Linked DNA regions of Homo sapiens: region 2 is linked to region 1. Evidence: promoter capture Hi-C in 16 types of primary human blood cells and fetal thymus (Javierre and others, 2016). All regions are on one chromosome and are shown on one strand. Each heading gives the region's core, a stretch centred on a gene start or on the middle of the fragment in contact. The rest is flanking DNA. Distances are from core to core; before and after follow the strand shown.

Evidence for each region. Contacts are between HindIII fragments. The CHiCAGO score rates a contact against its expected background, and 5 or more counts as called.
Region 2: a fragment that was not itself captured here is called in contact with the fragment with the promoter of ZNF615 in region 1 in 1 of 17 cell types (naive CD8 T cells); the score reaches 6.6 in naive CD8 T cells.

Annotation. Positions count from the first base shown.
Region 1 is chr19:52,004,029-52,011,405 of GRCh38, forward strand. ZNF615 (zinc finger protein 615) reads right to left here and starts at 4,183. Exons shown (of 7, transcript NM_001199324.2): 1 at 4,113-4,183; 2 at 3,265-3,302. It overlaps LOC124904755 (a long non-coding RNA gene), which reads left to right and starts at 4,270. Exons shown (of 2, transcript XR_007067321.1): 1 at 4,270-4,451. RefSeq lists enhancers at 3,944-4,553, 4,614-4,693. The HindIII fragment of the contact is 6,775 bases long and covers 1-6,771 here.
Region 2 is chr19:53,375,350-53,382,726 of GRCh38, forward strand. It overlaps ZNF525 (zinc finger protein 525), which reads left to right. Exons shown (of 4, transcript NM_001348156.2): 3 at 421-547; 4 at 5,373-7,377. The coding sequence ends at 6,670. Among named protein-coding and RNA genes, the nearest start is that of ZNF525, 13 kb to the left of the region's middle. The HindIII fragment of the contact is 2,659 bases long and covers 1,649-4,307 here.

The sequences.
Region 1 (7,377 bases), core at 2,933-5,432:
TTTATATCTGGGCTAGTAAAATATAACATTCTGAATATATGGGAGGTACAGCACCCTTCTATATAAAGTTGACGTGGTATGACTACTGCTAGTAAGTGAAAGAGAATGTGGGGAAAAGAATCGTCACAACGTGATGCCCAGCAGCTGGGCAATCCTCAGGCAGACCAGTTTTAGGAAAGAGGTCACATAGACAGTTAAGATGCACACATTTTTTCTTTAAAACCATGTGTACCCATCTACCTTTTCAGAGGTCTTTTTACATTCTAGGATACTGCAATCTGAGAACACTGTCCTAAGCAAATAATAAGCACTATCTTATTTAAATTATTCATTACCATCCACATCTTTGACTTTTTTTCTTTTTTTTTTGAGACTGAGTTTCACTCACTCTGTTGCCCAGGCTGGAGTGAGTAAGACTCCAGTGGCGTGATCTCTGTTCACTGCAACCTCCATCTCCTGGGTTCAAGCGATTCTCCTGCTTCAGCCGCCTGAGAAGCTGGGATTACAGGTGAACGCCACATGCGCTGCTAATTTTTGTACTTTTAGTAGAAACGGGGTTTCACCATGTTGGCCAGGCTGGTCTTGAACTCCTGAGCTCAACTGATCCACCCATCTCAGCCTCCCAAAGTGCTGGGACTACAGGCATGAGCCACTGCACCCGGCCGCCATCCACATCTTGATACTTGCAAAGTATTCTAAGTATAAATGTATAAAGGATACTCAGCAAAAATATCCTTGAGGAATTACATATTACAGCAAATCCTAACGGATATTCTTCAAGCAAAAGAAAGATGACTCCAGTGTAAGCAGAGGAGCAAGGTCTGAAGAGGAACAAAACGGTAAGTAATTAATAAAGCCTAAATCAGTATTGACTGGAAAAATAATACTGATAATAATATATCAGGAAGTTTTAATATATATAGTGTTAAAATATTCCATAAGAACATATAGGCCGGGTGCGGTGGCTCACGCCTGTAATCCCAACACTTTGGGAGGCCGAGGTGGGCAGATCACGAGGTCAGGAGTTCGAGATCAGCCTGACCAACATGGTGAAACCCCGTCTCTACTAAAAATACAAAAATTAGCTGGGCATGGTAGCGCGTGCCTATAATCCCAGCTACTCAGGAGGCTGAGGCAGGAGAATTGCTTGAACCCAGGAAGCGGAGGGTGCAGTGAGCCAAGATTGTGCCATTGCACTCCAGCCTGGGTGACAGAGTGAGATTCTATCTCAAAACAACAACAACAAAAAAGAACATATAAAGTAGGAGGATGGCAAATGAAAACGTATTTTAAGATATCTGCATAGCAGAAGAGTATAAAATACTAATTACCATAACATTAACAAATAAGTTTATATGTTGTTTGTAATCAATAGTGTCAGCAATAAAACTAATTTTTAAAAAATTATTTCCATGTTAAAAGAGAGGTCTATGGTTTCCGTGGCAGCTACTCAACTCTACTGTTGTAGCTCAAAAATGCCCACATACAAAAAAATAGACAAATGATTGTGGCCAGGTCCCAACAAAACTTTATTAACAGAAACAGGTGCTGGGAGATTTAGTCCATGGGCTCTAGTTGCCCAACTGTGAATTTGTGCAGAAAAGCCATATGGTCACCTAAATCAAGAGTCAGTAATATAGTATCCAGGACCTGGACCACCTGTTTTGTAAATAAAGTCTTATAAGAACACAGCTACATGCATTCCATGACATTTCATCTCAGGCTATTATCACATTACAATGGCAGAGTTGAGAATTTGGGTCTAGAATGTCACTCAGTAGAATGCAGTATAAAAAAATAATCAAAGATGACTTTTGAATATAAGGGGCAAATTATCAGTATTTGCCTAATACGTCTGTATTCCTTTAGTCAGGTGGCTGGATACAAAATTTAAATAGAAAAATCCTATATCCTCCTAAAGCATATACAGATCGAGTCAGTATTAAGAGCAGAACCTTTCTTGGGAACAATTTAACATTCTATTGAAAATTGCCAATAAAGGTATACCTGGTAACCCAAAACCCCATTCCTAAAACTTTCTTAAAAGGTAATATTGGCAAAAGTGTGCTATCTGACAGGTCATTTTTACTTTCTTCACTTGATTTTTCATAGGGAAAACACAGGTTTACATCAGAAAAATATTAGCATTCTACATTTAAAATAAAATTGCTGATGGTAGTTCAGTAATATAAGTTTACGGCTTTAAATGTTTTCATTAATAGAAAAAAGAGAGAAACCAGGCGGGAGGAAGGGAGAGAAAAAAATGAATATAAATACAAATTTTACAAAAGACAAAACCAAAAATAATCCTCAGAGATAATCGTGAGGAAAAGATGTTTAACTCCTCTTTTGGCCAACAAGTAAAGCGACACAAGTTATGCCAATCACACAATGAGCAAGAAGCAGAATCAGGGCTGAAAATCCACTTTTGTTTCACTTCAAAATCCACTTTTACTCTACTTTATACCGAACCAAAATTATCTGTAAATCAGATGCCTCCCTATTAAGTAAATAAATAAAGCAATTAAAGGGCTATTAGTAGAATTCTAGTTAATCATATACAGAATTATTTAGAGGAATGGTACTTATGTCTGTAACTTACTTTGAAATATACCAAAATCGACAACAAATAAGGAATGATTCACAAACAGAGGAATGGATGAATACTTAGAAAACCAGTAGAGCTGATCTAATACAATGTTAATGGTAAAAGCTAGGTGGTAGGCATATTGGTATTAACATTAAACTTCTTTCAATATTTCCATAGGTTCAAAAATTTTCACAAAATAATATGTTAGGCAGAGAGAAAAATATTGTAATACTAAGAATTAAGATGACCAAATATAAAATAAATATTTAAAATTAATTTATCTTTTGTTATAGATTATAAGGAAAGGGGAGTCAGAAAGCAATACACTGCAATAAAAGTAATAGTCTAGATTGAAGATTAAAGGCAGGAAAAACAAAATTCATGGATAAATGGATAATCATAAAATGTTCCTAAAAATAATACCTAAACATTTTAAAACATTTCACTTCTATCCAAATGTACGCATAAACTTAATGTGAATGCACTTATAGTACCACCGGCTCAAACAGTAAAAACAACTTCTAAATGTTTATTACATAATATAAAGCGAAAAAGATAATAGTACCATTTACATAATTTATCTGAATTATGAATATTAAGCACATAACATACACGTCTAAAATTGAAATATTCTGAAAATTTGACAAAGGTTATCTTTGAGTAACCGAGCTTACCATGGCAGAGATGTTATCTTACTTGTGTCAGAAAGAACCTGAAAAGAAATATCCAAGAGGATACGCTGGAAACTTGCAGGACAAAGGGTAGAAGCCGCATCTTAAATATAAAACATACTACTTTTAGGTATGCTAGATGACTGATCTCGCCAAAAACTTCCATTTCTGAGGATTCAAGACCAAGGGGTGATGGAAGGTGCCAAAGGGGATTTAAAAACCAGTCGTGGAGAAGGGTCTTGGGCAGAAGGGGAATGCTAATGAGCATCAATTCTGTTCCAGCAGCCAGGGCTGGGGCTAACCCATCACCTGCCATGGTTCCCAGGCCTCCAGAGCTGCAGCCCACATCGGAATCTGTGGCGCTACCACCACCGCCACCGGGATTAATTCCAAAACCTGGATCAGAAACCTCCGTACCTTAACCCCCAAGACAGTTCCTCAATCATTTAGTCCCAAACAAAACCTGAACCATAAACCGATTCGCTGACAAAACAAACCCTCCAGTTCGCAATCACTGAGCCCCGCCAAAGGACAACACCAAAGACACCAGAATGTGACTTGGGCACTCAGTAGCGGATCTCTAGAGATCTTTAACCACAAACTACACGAGGACCCTGTGACTGGTCCCAGAGGTACCCCGATCACACACACACACACCCTATCACGGACCTCTTGTAGTTCCCCTGCGATAGGAATCGGACCCACGCTAAGCTCCTGAAAGAATTCCACTGGCGTCGCCAAACGCTGGCGCCGACAGATACCAGTCCATCACCACTGTCCACGAACACGCCCAGCCACGGACAGAATTTCCTCCCCCGTCACCACAGCGACCACCCAGTGACTGAACTTACTTCCCAGAACTTGGTGGGCTCCGGCCTCATCTCTCGGCCTCCTCAGTGCCTGACGGCGACTATCCAGGGTCGGAGGCGTTCCCAGCGTTTGCGCAGATGCAAGATGGCCGCGCCCTCGTCGCCTTGGCTCCATGGGGGCCGCCATCTTTGAGTATCTGACGTACACAAGGCAAAGGGCGCGTTTTGGCGCTGGTGACCGGGGGTGACCGGGGGTGACCGGGGATGGCCGGGAAGATGAAAGAGCACTGAAACTGTCCCATTTCCTGGCACCTCAACCCTTCATAAATACGGGTCCATATACAGAGGCTCCAGTTTACACAAGACAAAAATGGCGTGGAGGTAAATCCCTTTCAGCAGCTGAATAGAAGGCTAAGATGGCCGCGACGTTTACACTTTGTACAAAGGTTAGGAAACAGTTCCTTGTGAGGGAAAAGGAGAACCGGCCGAGAGGGGACACTTCGGCCAAAGCCAGATTTCTAACAAAGTAGCTTGAAGCGCCTTTTGAACGCAGAAGAGGGCTGTTAGCTACGCTGACGGAACAGGGGTAGCAGTCACAGACTAGGTAATGAAAACGGTTGGAACGTGCCAAAATTATGTTGGGTGAAAGGCATGGGGAAAAGCCAGTAAAAGCCAGAAAGTATAGTTCCCAAGGCGGAGGGGAGAGCCTGGGACCCAGGTGGAGCCAAATATGAGGGCTGGACTCAGGAGAAGTGGCCAGAAATTAAGGGAACAGGACCACTTCAGTGAGAAAAAAAAGGTTGGGAAAGAGGCCGGGCGCGGTGGCTCACGCCTGTAATCCCAGCACTTTGGGAGGCCGAGGTGGGCGGATCACCTGAGAGCGGGAGTTCGAGACCAGCCTGACCAACATGGAGAAACCCTGTCTCTACTAAAAATACAAAATTAGCCAGGCATGGTGGCGCATGCCTGTAATCCCAGCTACTCGGGAGGCTGAGGCAGGAGAATCGCTTGAACCCGGGAGGCGGAGGTTGCTGTGGGCCAAGATGGCGTCATTGCACTCCAGCCTGGGCAACAGGAGCAAAACTCCATCTCAAAAAAAAAACAAAAGAAAGAAAGGTTAAGAAGGAGATCACGTTATACTACGTGTGCCAACCGCGAATAGTATGTGCAAAGTCATGGCAATGCTGAACTGTAAATATAAATCCAACCAAACTTCCTATATTAGAAGAATGAGAGAAAGGAAATGCCTGTGTGAATCTATGTGTGTGATATAGGTATCAGTATATAAATATACAGAGAAATTGTCAAACTATTTTTCAGAGTCAAGTTCGTGTTCCATTTGCTCTTCTCACCCTTGGTATATGAGAGTTTTTCTTTTTTTTTGTTTTTTTTTTGTCTCTTTTTGAGGCAAGGTCCACTCTGTTGCCCAGTCTGGAGTGCCTGGGGAGATCACAGCTCACTGTAACTTGGAACTCCTGGGCTCCTGAATAGCTGGGACTACAGGTGGGCACCACCACACCTGGCTAATTTTTTAATTTTCTGTAGAGACAAGGGTCTCACTATGATGCCCAGCTGGTCTTGAACTGGCCTCAAGCAGTCCTCCCACTTCATCCTCCAAAAGTGCTGGGATTACAGGTGTGAGCCACTTCACCCTTCACCCGGCCTATAAAGAGATCTGAAAAGAAATAAGAAAAAAGATGGGCGCGGTGGCTCATGCCTGTAATCCTAACACTTTGGGAGGCCAAAGCGGGAGGATTGCCTGAGTTCAGGAGTTTGAGATCAGCCTGGCCAACATGGCGAAACCCCATAGCTACTAAAATACAAAAAAAATTAGCTGGGCATGGTGTCTCAGGCCTGTAGTCCCATTTACTTGGAAGGCTGAGGCACGAGAATCGCTTGAACCCAGGAGGCAGAGGTTGCAGTGAGCCAAGATCATGCCACTGCACCCCAGCCTGAGAGACAGAGTGAGACTCTTGTCTCAAAAAAAAAAATAAATAAAAATAAGGAAAAGATGATCAACTTAAAAGCTCCCTAAAATTTTCTATAAATACATGAAGGAAATAAACAGGACACTTTTTTTAATGTAAATGATCCTAAACAATTTAAAAAATACCAGTTTTACTAATATTCAAACAAATGCAAAGTAAACGTGAAATATAAATGTTTTAACCCTTATTAAGATTTGTAAAGATTGAATGACAAATCATATTTAGATTATAAGGCCATGGAACAAAGGCATTCTGTTATGCTAAGCCTCTTTAAGTCTTCTTTTTCTGCATGGTAGGTAATAATGTTGTCAATTACATACTGCTTTAAATGAATTGAGATATTATCATACTGGTCATAATTCGAAGTTCTTAAGCATTACATTATTTCTAGGTATAGGATTGTGTTTCTATATAAATTCGTAAAATGTTTTTGTAGTACAGTCTGTTATTACCCAGTTTAAACTTTTCCTTCTCCTTGAGCCATGAATTTTAAGAATTGATTCAATAGAACTTTTCTTTGTGAGAACAAATATGTGCAAGGATATTTATGGTATTGATCTGACAATTATAAGGAAACAAATACTTTTGTGGTTATTGCATAAATTTATTCTTGCATCTCTATATTCACATCTTTGGATAGTATTCTCCATAGTGACTGACTAATGTGTCCAATAGGACAGTAGCAAGTGTAACACAAATGGAGGTGAGAAATAAGCTTGCTCATCAAGGCTTGCTTGTCTCTTAGAGATCTTCCAACACATTGTAAGAAAGCCCAGACTAGCCTCTTGTTGACTGTGTAAATAAAGGCCTCATCCATTCCAGCAGAAGCCCAAATATGTGAAAAAAGCTATTTAGACCATGCAGCCCCAGTCAAAATCCAACCACTAGAGCCTCCGGCCCAGCAGTCCCAATTGTTACTAAACTCTGTGGACAAACATAATGCCATGAGTGGGTGGGGGTCACCTAATCTGCCATCCAAGTGCTTATCCCTGCTCCTAGCCAAGCAGGACTTGCCAGCTTGGGTGGTGTCCAAGTAGGGAGGGGCCCTCACTCTTGGATCACCATAAGAGTTGAGACAGCTGGGTCTGCAGGACATTGGAAAAGTCGGGTGTGCCTTCCTCTGTAGGGCCACCTGGGAAGGATACAGCTGTCTGCAAACCATGATGTCTGCCTGAGGGAGCCCCATGAGCAGAGGATGCCCAAGGCCTTGGGAACCCACGCCTTGCACTAGATTTAATGACTACCCTGCTGGGTTTTGAACTTGCATGGAACCTATAGCCCTTTCTTGTGGCTTTCTCCCTTTTGGAATGGGAATGTTT
Region 2 (7,377 bases), core at 1,728-4,227, 1.4 Mb after region 1:
ACTGTATCAGGCAGATCACGAGGTCAGGAGTCTGAGACAAACCTGGCCAGTATGGTGAAACTCCGTTTCTACTAAAAATACAAAAATTAAATTGGCGTGGTGGCATGCACCTGTAATTTCAACTACTCAGGAGGCTAAGGCAGGAGAATCGCTTGATCCTGGGAGGTGGAGGTTGCAGTGAGCGGAGACTATGCCATTGCACTCCAGCCTGAGTGACAGAGTGAGACTCTGTCTCAAAAAAAATAAAAGTATAACAAAACACAACTGGGAAGACAAAATGCAGTGAAAAACCCCTTACTCGGATTTGTCAGAACATTCACTGCAATTAAATCCATGCTTTCCCCTCTCTCCTCTTCTCATTTTCTGTAAAGATAAGAACTCCTCCCATAACCATTTGGTTAAAATGTGTTTTCATTTCAGGGTCTATTGACATTCAGGGATGTGGCCATAGAATTCTCTCAGGAGGAGTGGAAATGCCTGGACCCTGCTCAGAGGACTCTATACAGGGACGTGATGCTGGAGAATTATAGGAACCTGGTCTCCCTGGGTGAGGATAACTTCCCTCCAGAAGTGGGGATGTGTCCTTTCGTATCTTTGTATTTTCTCTTTTTTTAGATAGAGTATCTCTCTCTCTGTCCCCAAGGGTGGGGTGCAATGGTGTGATCATGGCTCACTGCAATCTTGAATTCCTGGGCTCAAGTGATTGTCCCACCTCAGCCTCCCCTCGTAGTGGTACAGGTGCATGCCACCATGCCAGGATACTTTTTTAGTTTCTTTTTTTAGAGACAGGTTCTTGCTGTGCGGTTGAAGTTGGTCTTGATCTCCTGGGCTCAAGACATCCTCCTCGGCCTCCCAAGAAGCTGGGATTACAGGCGCCAACCCCCGTACCTAACTATTGGCTTTTGTTTTTAAACTTTTTGCATATGTGTGTCCTTAGGGCTAATATGAGTCTTCTGTGGACAACAAGTAGTTGGTTCCTGTTGATTGAGTCAGTCTTTGCCTTCTGAGTGCAGAGTTAAATATTTGCATTTGAAATATTACTGATGCAGAAGACCTTACCATTGCCTTTTTGTTACATATTATCTGTATTTCTTGATTTTTTTTGTTGTTATTTTGTTCTTATTTTGTTTTTTCAGGTTTGTTTTTTGTTCTTCATTCTCCATTTCCTGCTTATTGTGTTTAATTGCTTTTCTGTGTAGACACGCTTTGACTCCTTTCTTCTTTACTTTTGTTTGTTTGTTTGTTTATGATGGAGTCTCCCTCTGTGGCCAAGGCTGCAGCGCAGTGGGGCGATCTTGGCTCACCGCAGCCGGCTCCACATCTCGGGCTCAAACAATTCTTGTGCCCCAGTGGCTCATGCCTGTAATCCCAGCACTTTGGAAGGCCGGGGGTGGGCAAATCACCTGAGGTCAGGAGTTCAAAACCAGCCTGTCTAACGTGGTGAAACTCCGTCTCTACTAAAAATACAAAATTAGCCAGACACGGTCGTGGGTGCCTGTAATCCCTGCTACTCAAGAGGCTAATGCAGGAGAGTCACTTGAACCCTGGAGGTGGAGGTTGTGGTGACCTGAGATTGTGCCATGCACTCCCGCCTGGGCAACACAGTGAGACTCTGTCTCAAAGAAAAAAAGATTCCACAACCTGCAAAAGCTTCTCTTTCTCCACCAGAACTTTATTTATGTCGGAATTATTTCTGTGTATGCTGCATTTTCATTAACATATATGTACAGTGTTTTTTCATGCTTTTTTCTTCTAAATAATAGGAAAAAAAGTTGAATTATGAAGGGACACATATACCAGTTTCTGTATCTGTCCTTTTATTTGCCTATTTATTTATTTATTAATGAGACGAAGTTTTGTTCTTGTCACCCATGCTAGAGTGCAATGGCACAATCTCGGGTCACTGCAACCTCCAACTCCTGGGTTCAAGCAATTCTCCTGCCTCAGTTTCCCGAGTAGCTGGGATTATAGGCATATGCCACCATGCCTGGCTAATTTTGTATTTTAATAGACATGGGATTTCTCCTTTTTGGTCAGGCTTTTCTTGAACTCCCGCCCTCAGGTGATCTGCCAACCTCGGCCTCCTAATCTGCTGGAATTACAGGTTTGAAAAACTGCGCCCGGCCTATCTGTCTTTTTATTTACCTTTACTGGAGAATTTTATATATATTTGTGGGTTGGAGTTACTCTTAGGCTTCTTTCATTTCTTTTTTTTTTTTTTTTGAGATGGAGTCTCGGTCTGTCACTCAGGCTGGAGTGCAGTGGCACAATCTTGGCTAACTGCAACCTCTGCCTCCCAGGTTCAAGCGATTCTCCTGCCTCAGTTTCCCAAGTAGCTGGGACTACAGGCATGTGCCACCACACCAGGCTAATTTTTTGTATTTTTGTTTTTTGTAGAGACGGGGTTTCACTGTGTTAGCAAGAATGGTCTCGATCTCCTGACCTCATGATCCTCCTCCCTCAGCCTCCCAAAGTGCTGGGATTACAGGTGTGAACCACCTCACTCAGCCGGCCTCAAAGTTTTTAAAACATGTTATTGCTATTAGATGGCTTCAAGTATTGCAAAATTTATAGTACAGGCCCTAAACTTCCTTTGTTTAATTAGATTTGTCAGCCTTCAGTGATGTGAATCATGAGATGCTTCTTTTCCTGTCTCAGTCATTTCACTGTCCTGTCAGAAATAGCTTAGACTGGCCAGCTGAGGTGGGTCATGCCTTAATCCCAGCAGTTTGGGATGCTGAGGTGGGCAGATAGCTTGAAGTCAGGAGTTTGAGACCAGTCTGGCCAACATGGTGAAACCTCGAATCTACTAAATACAAGAAATTGGCTAGGTGTAGTGGCTCAAGCCTGTAATCCCAGCACTTTGGGAGGCCGAGAGGGGCGGATCACCTGAGTTAAGGAATTTGAGACCAGCCTGACCAACATGGTGAAACCCTGTCTCTACTAAAAATACAAGAATTAGCTGGGCGTGGTGGCACATGGCTGTTATCCCAAGTACTCGAGAGGCTGAGGAAGGAGAATCTTGAACCCGGGAGGTGGAGGTTGTAGTGAGCCAAGGTTACACCACTGCACTCCAGTCTGGGCACCAAAGTGAGACTACAGGCTGAGGCGGGAGAATCTCTTGAGGCAGGAGAATCGTGCCACTACACTCCAGCCTGGGTGATAGAGCGTGACTCGGTCTCAAAAACAAACAAAAAAAGAAATAGCTTAAACTGGGAGGCTTAAGACACAGAAATTTATTTCTCATGAGTTTGGAAAGTGGGAAATCCAAGAGCAAGGTGCCAGCCACATTGGTTCCTGGTGAGAGCCTTCCTCATGGTTTAGCCCAGCCATCTTCCTGCCATGTCCTGACATGGTGGAAACAGGAACAGGCAACGAGCTCTTTAATGTCTCTTTTTATGAAAGCACAAGTCCTATTCACGAGTAGTCAACACCCGTGACCAAATTGTCTCAAAGGCCCCATCTGCAGGAACATCCTATTGGAGAATAAGAACTCTGAACATGGCGTTTGGCCAATACAAACATTCAGACCAGGGAGCCTGCATCATCTTATTTATGTTTTTATTGTTTAATTTGTTTCATACAATGTTTTCTCTGATCTCAGTTTATAAATTTTCCCAGTACACATTCTATGTTTTATATTTTATGCATAGTGAACTAGATACATAGGGCAATGTATATATATATATAGAATTGCTGTATTGCCTGGCTGTTTCATAAATGTAGTTGTGACATCATAATTGCACCCTCCGGCACTATTAGTCAATTCTTTTTTTTTTTCTTAGAGACGAAGTCTCACCCTGTCACTCAAGCTGGAGTGCAGTGGTGGGACCTTGGCTCACCACAAACTCTACCTCCTGGGTTCAAACGATTCTCTTGCCTCAGCCTTCTGAGTAGCTGAGATTACAGGCACCCGCCACCACACCCAGCTAATTTTTTTGTATTTTTAGTAGAGTTATGGTTTCACCACGTTGGCCAGGCTATTCTTGAACTCCTGACCTCATGGTCTTCCCACCTCGGCCTCCCAAAGTGCTGGAATTACAGGCATGAGCCACTGCACCCGGCTGTTAGTGAATTCTTATTCATTATAATGCTGCATATTTTTTTGACCTCATACATCAGAAGGTAGTGATCTTAACATGTATTTCAGTTCTTATATTGTGTGCTGGTGGTAAGTAGAAGTTGTGCTTTTTTCTTAACAGGGAATTGTTTAGAATTCTGCAGTTTGTATAAATGTACTTATGATTTGCTTGCTGGTTTTATGCGTTACAGTTATTTTACCAATTCATTTTTATGATTTTACATAAAGCTTTTCGGTATGTGGTATGCAATATAACTGACACAGTTTACTAGTTAATGTCACAAAGTGCCAGCGGGTGCTGTGGCTCACGCCTGCAATCCCAGGACTTTGGGAGGCTGAGGCGGGTGGATCACTTGAGGTCAAAAGTTCAAGGCCAGCCTGGCCAATATGATGTAACCCTATCTCTACTAAAAATACAAAAATTAGCCAAGCATGCTGGCATGTGCCTGTAATCCCATGTACTCAGGAGGCTGAGGCAGGAGAATGGCTTGAACCCAAAAGGTGGAGGTTGCAGTGAGCTGAGATCAGGCCATTGCCCTCCAGCCTGTTGTGACACAGTGAAACATTGTCTCAAAAATACAAAAATAAAAAAAAAATTTTAAATGTTACAATATGCCTTTTCTGCATGGATATAGGTAATTTTATGACAGTTATTCAGAAAAATATTTTTTTTTTTTTGAGATGGAGTCTCACTTTGTCATCCAGGCTGAAGTACAGTGGTGCGATCTCGGCTCACTGCAACCTCTGCCTCTTGGGTTCAAGCAATTCTTGTACCTCACCCTTGCGAGTAGCTGGGAGTACAGACGTGCACCACCATGCCTTGCTAAATTTTGTAAACTTTTCTTATCTTCTCAGTGCTATGATTATTTAACAATACAGAATTTCCATTGATTTTGGTTATCCTTACATGAGCTTGCTGTGGATTATTTACCAGTATATTATATTGTGTGGTCCTTTAGTATTTATTTGTATACAGTAAGTATGCTGTAAATATGAAGAATATATACTTTTCATTGATGTGACAGTGATATGTCTTTTGCAAACTGTTAGACACTTTAGGGTCACAGTGGAAAAATACTCCTTATTTTAGGCTTACACATGTTTGTGCCCTTCAGTGTTTTGTCATGATATTGGAAATAAGCTTTCATAATAATAATTTGAAGCACATGTAATCGCCCTTTATTTATTAAAGAATCTTACGATTTTGTGTTCCTAAACTTTGAAGATCATGTTTGGGAAGTTTAAAATCAGTATTGTCTTTTGTGTACCTATTAGTGTTTATATTTTGTAGGTATCTCTTCCAAATGCACAATGAAGGAGTTCTCATCAACAGCACAAGGCAATACAGAAGTGATCCACACAGGGACATTGCAAAGACATGAACGTCATCACATTGGAGATTTTTCCTTCCAGGAAATTGAGAAAGATATTCATAACTTTGAGTTTCAGTGGCAAGAAGATGAAAGAAATGGCCATGAAGCACCCATGACAAAAATCAAAAAATTGATGGGTAGTACAGAGCAATATGATCACAGGCATGCTGGAAACAAGCCTATTAAATATCAGCTTGGATCAAGCTTTCATTCACATCTGTCTGAACTCCACATATTTCAGCCCAAAGGGAAAATTAATAATCAAGTGGAGAAGTCTATCAACGATGCTTCCTCGGTTTCAACAGCCCAAAGAATTTCTTGTAGGCCCAAAACCCATATATCTAATAACTATGGGGATAATTTTCTGAATTATTCATTACTCACACAAAGACAGGAAGTACGCATGAGAGAAAAATCTTTCCAATGTATTGAGAGTGGCAAAGCCTTTAATTATAGCTCACTCTTAAGGAAACATCAGATTATTCATCTAGGAGAGAAACAATATAAATGTGATGTATGTGACAAGGTCTTTATTCGGAAGCGATACCTTGCACGCCATCGTAGATGTCACACTGGTGAGAAACCTTACAAGTGTAATGAGTGTGGCAAGTCCTTCAGTCAGATGTCATCCCTTACATATCATCATCGACTTCATACTGGAGAGAAACCTTACAAATGTGAAGAATGTGACAAAGCTTTCAGACACAATTCAGCCCTTCAAAGACATAGGAGAATTCATACTGGAGAGAAACCACATAAGTGTAATGAGTGTGGCAAGACCTTTAGTCAGAAGTCATACCTTGCATGCCATCGTAGCATTCATACTGGAAAGAAACCTTACGAATGTGAAGAATGTGACAAAGCTTTCAGTTTCAAATCAAACCTTGAAAGTCATAGGATAACTCATACTGGAGAGAAACCATACAAGTGTAATGATTGTGGCAAGACCTTCAGTCATATGTCAACCCTTACATGCCATCGTAGACTTCATACTGGAGAGAAACCTTACAAGTGTGAAGAATGTGATGAAGCTTTCCGTTTCAAATCAAGTCTTGAAAGACATAGGAGAATTCATAATGGAGAGAAACTGTACAAATGTAATGAGTGTGGCAAGACCTTCAGTCAGGAGTTATCCCTTACCTGCCATTGTAGACTTCATAGTGGAGAGAAACCTTGCAAGTGTGGAGAATGTGACAAGGCTTACAGTTTCAAATAAAATCTTGAAATACGTCAGAAAATTCATACTGGAGAGAAATGTTATAAGTGTAATGATTGTGGCAAGATCTTCAGTCATACGTCATCCATTGTATACCATCATAAATTTCATAGTGGAGAGAAACCTTACAAATGTGAAGAATGTGATGAAGCTTTCAGTTTCAAATCAAACCTTGAAAGACATAGGAGAATTCACACTGGTGAGAAACCTTACAGGTGTAATAGGTGTGGCAAGACCTTCAGTCATACATCATCCCTTACATGCCATCATAGACTTCATACTGGAGAGAAACCTTACAAATGTGAAGAATGTGATGAAACTTTCAGATACAAATCAAATCTTGAAAGACATAGGAGAATTCATAATGGAGAGAAACCGTACAAGTGTAATGAGTGTGGCAAGACCTTCAGTCAGAAGTCATGCCTTACACGCCATCATAGACTTCATACTGGAAATAAATCTTATAAGTGTAATGAGTGTGGCAAGACCTTCAGTAAGGAGTTAACACATGCCATCATAGACGTCATACTGGAGAGAAACCTTAGAAGTGCAATGAGTGTGGCAAAACCTTTCATAGGCAGTCAGCGCTTATTTACCATCAAGCAATCCATGGCAGAGGGAAACTTTACAAATGTAATGATTGTCACCACGTCTTCAGTAATGCTACAACTATTGCAAATCATTGGAGAATCCATAATAAAGAGAGA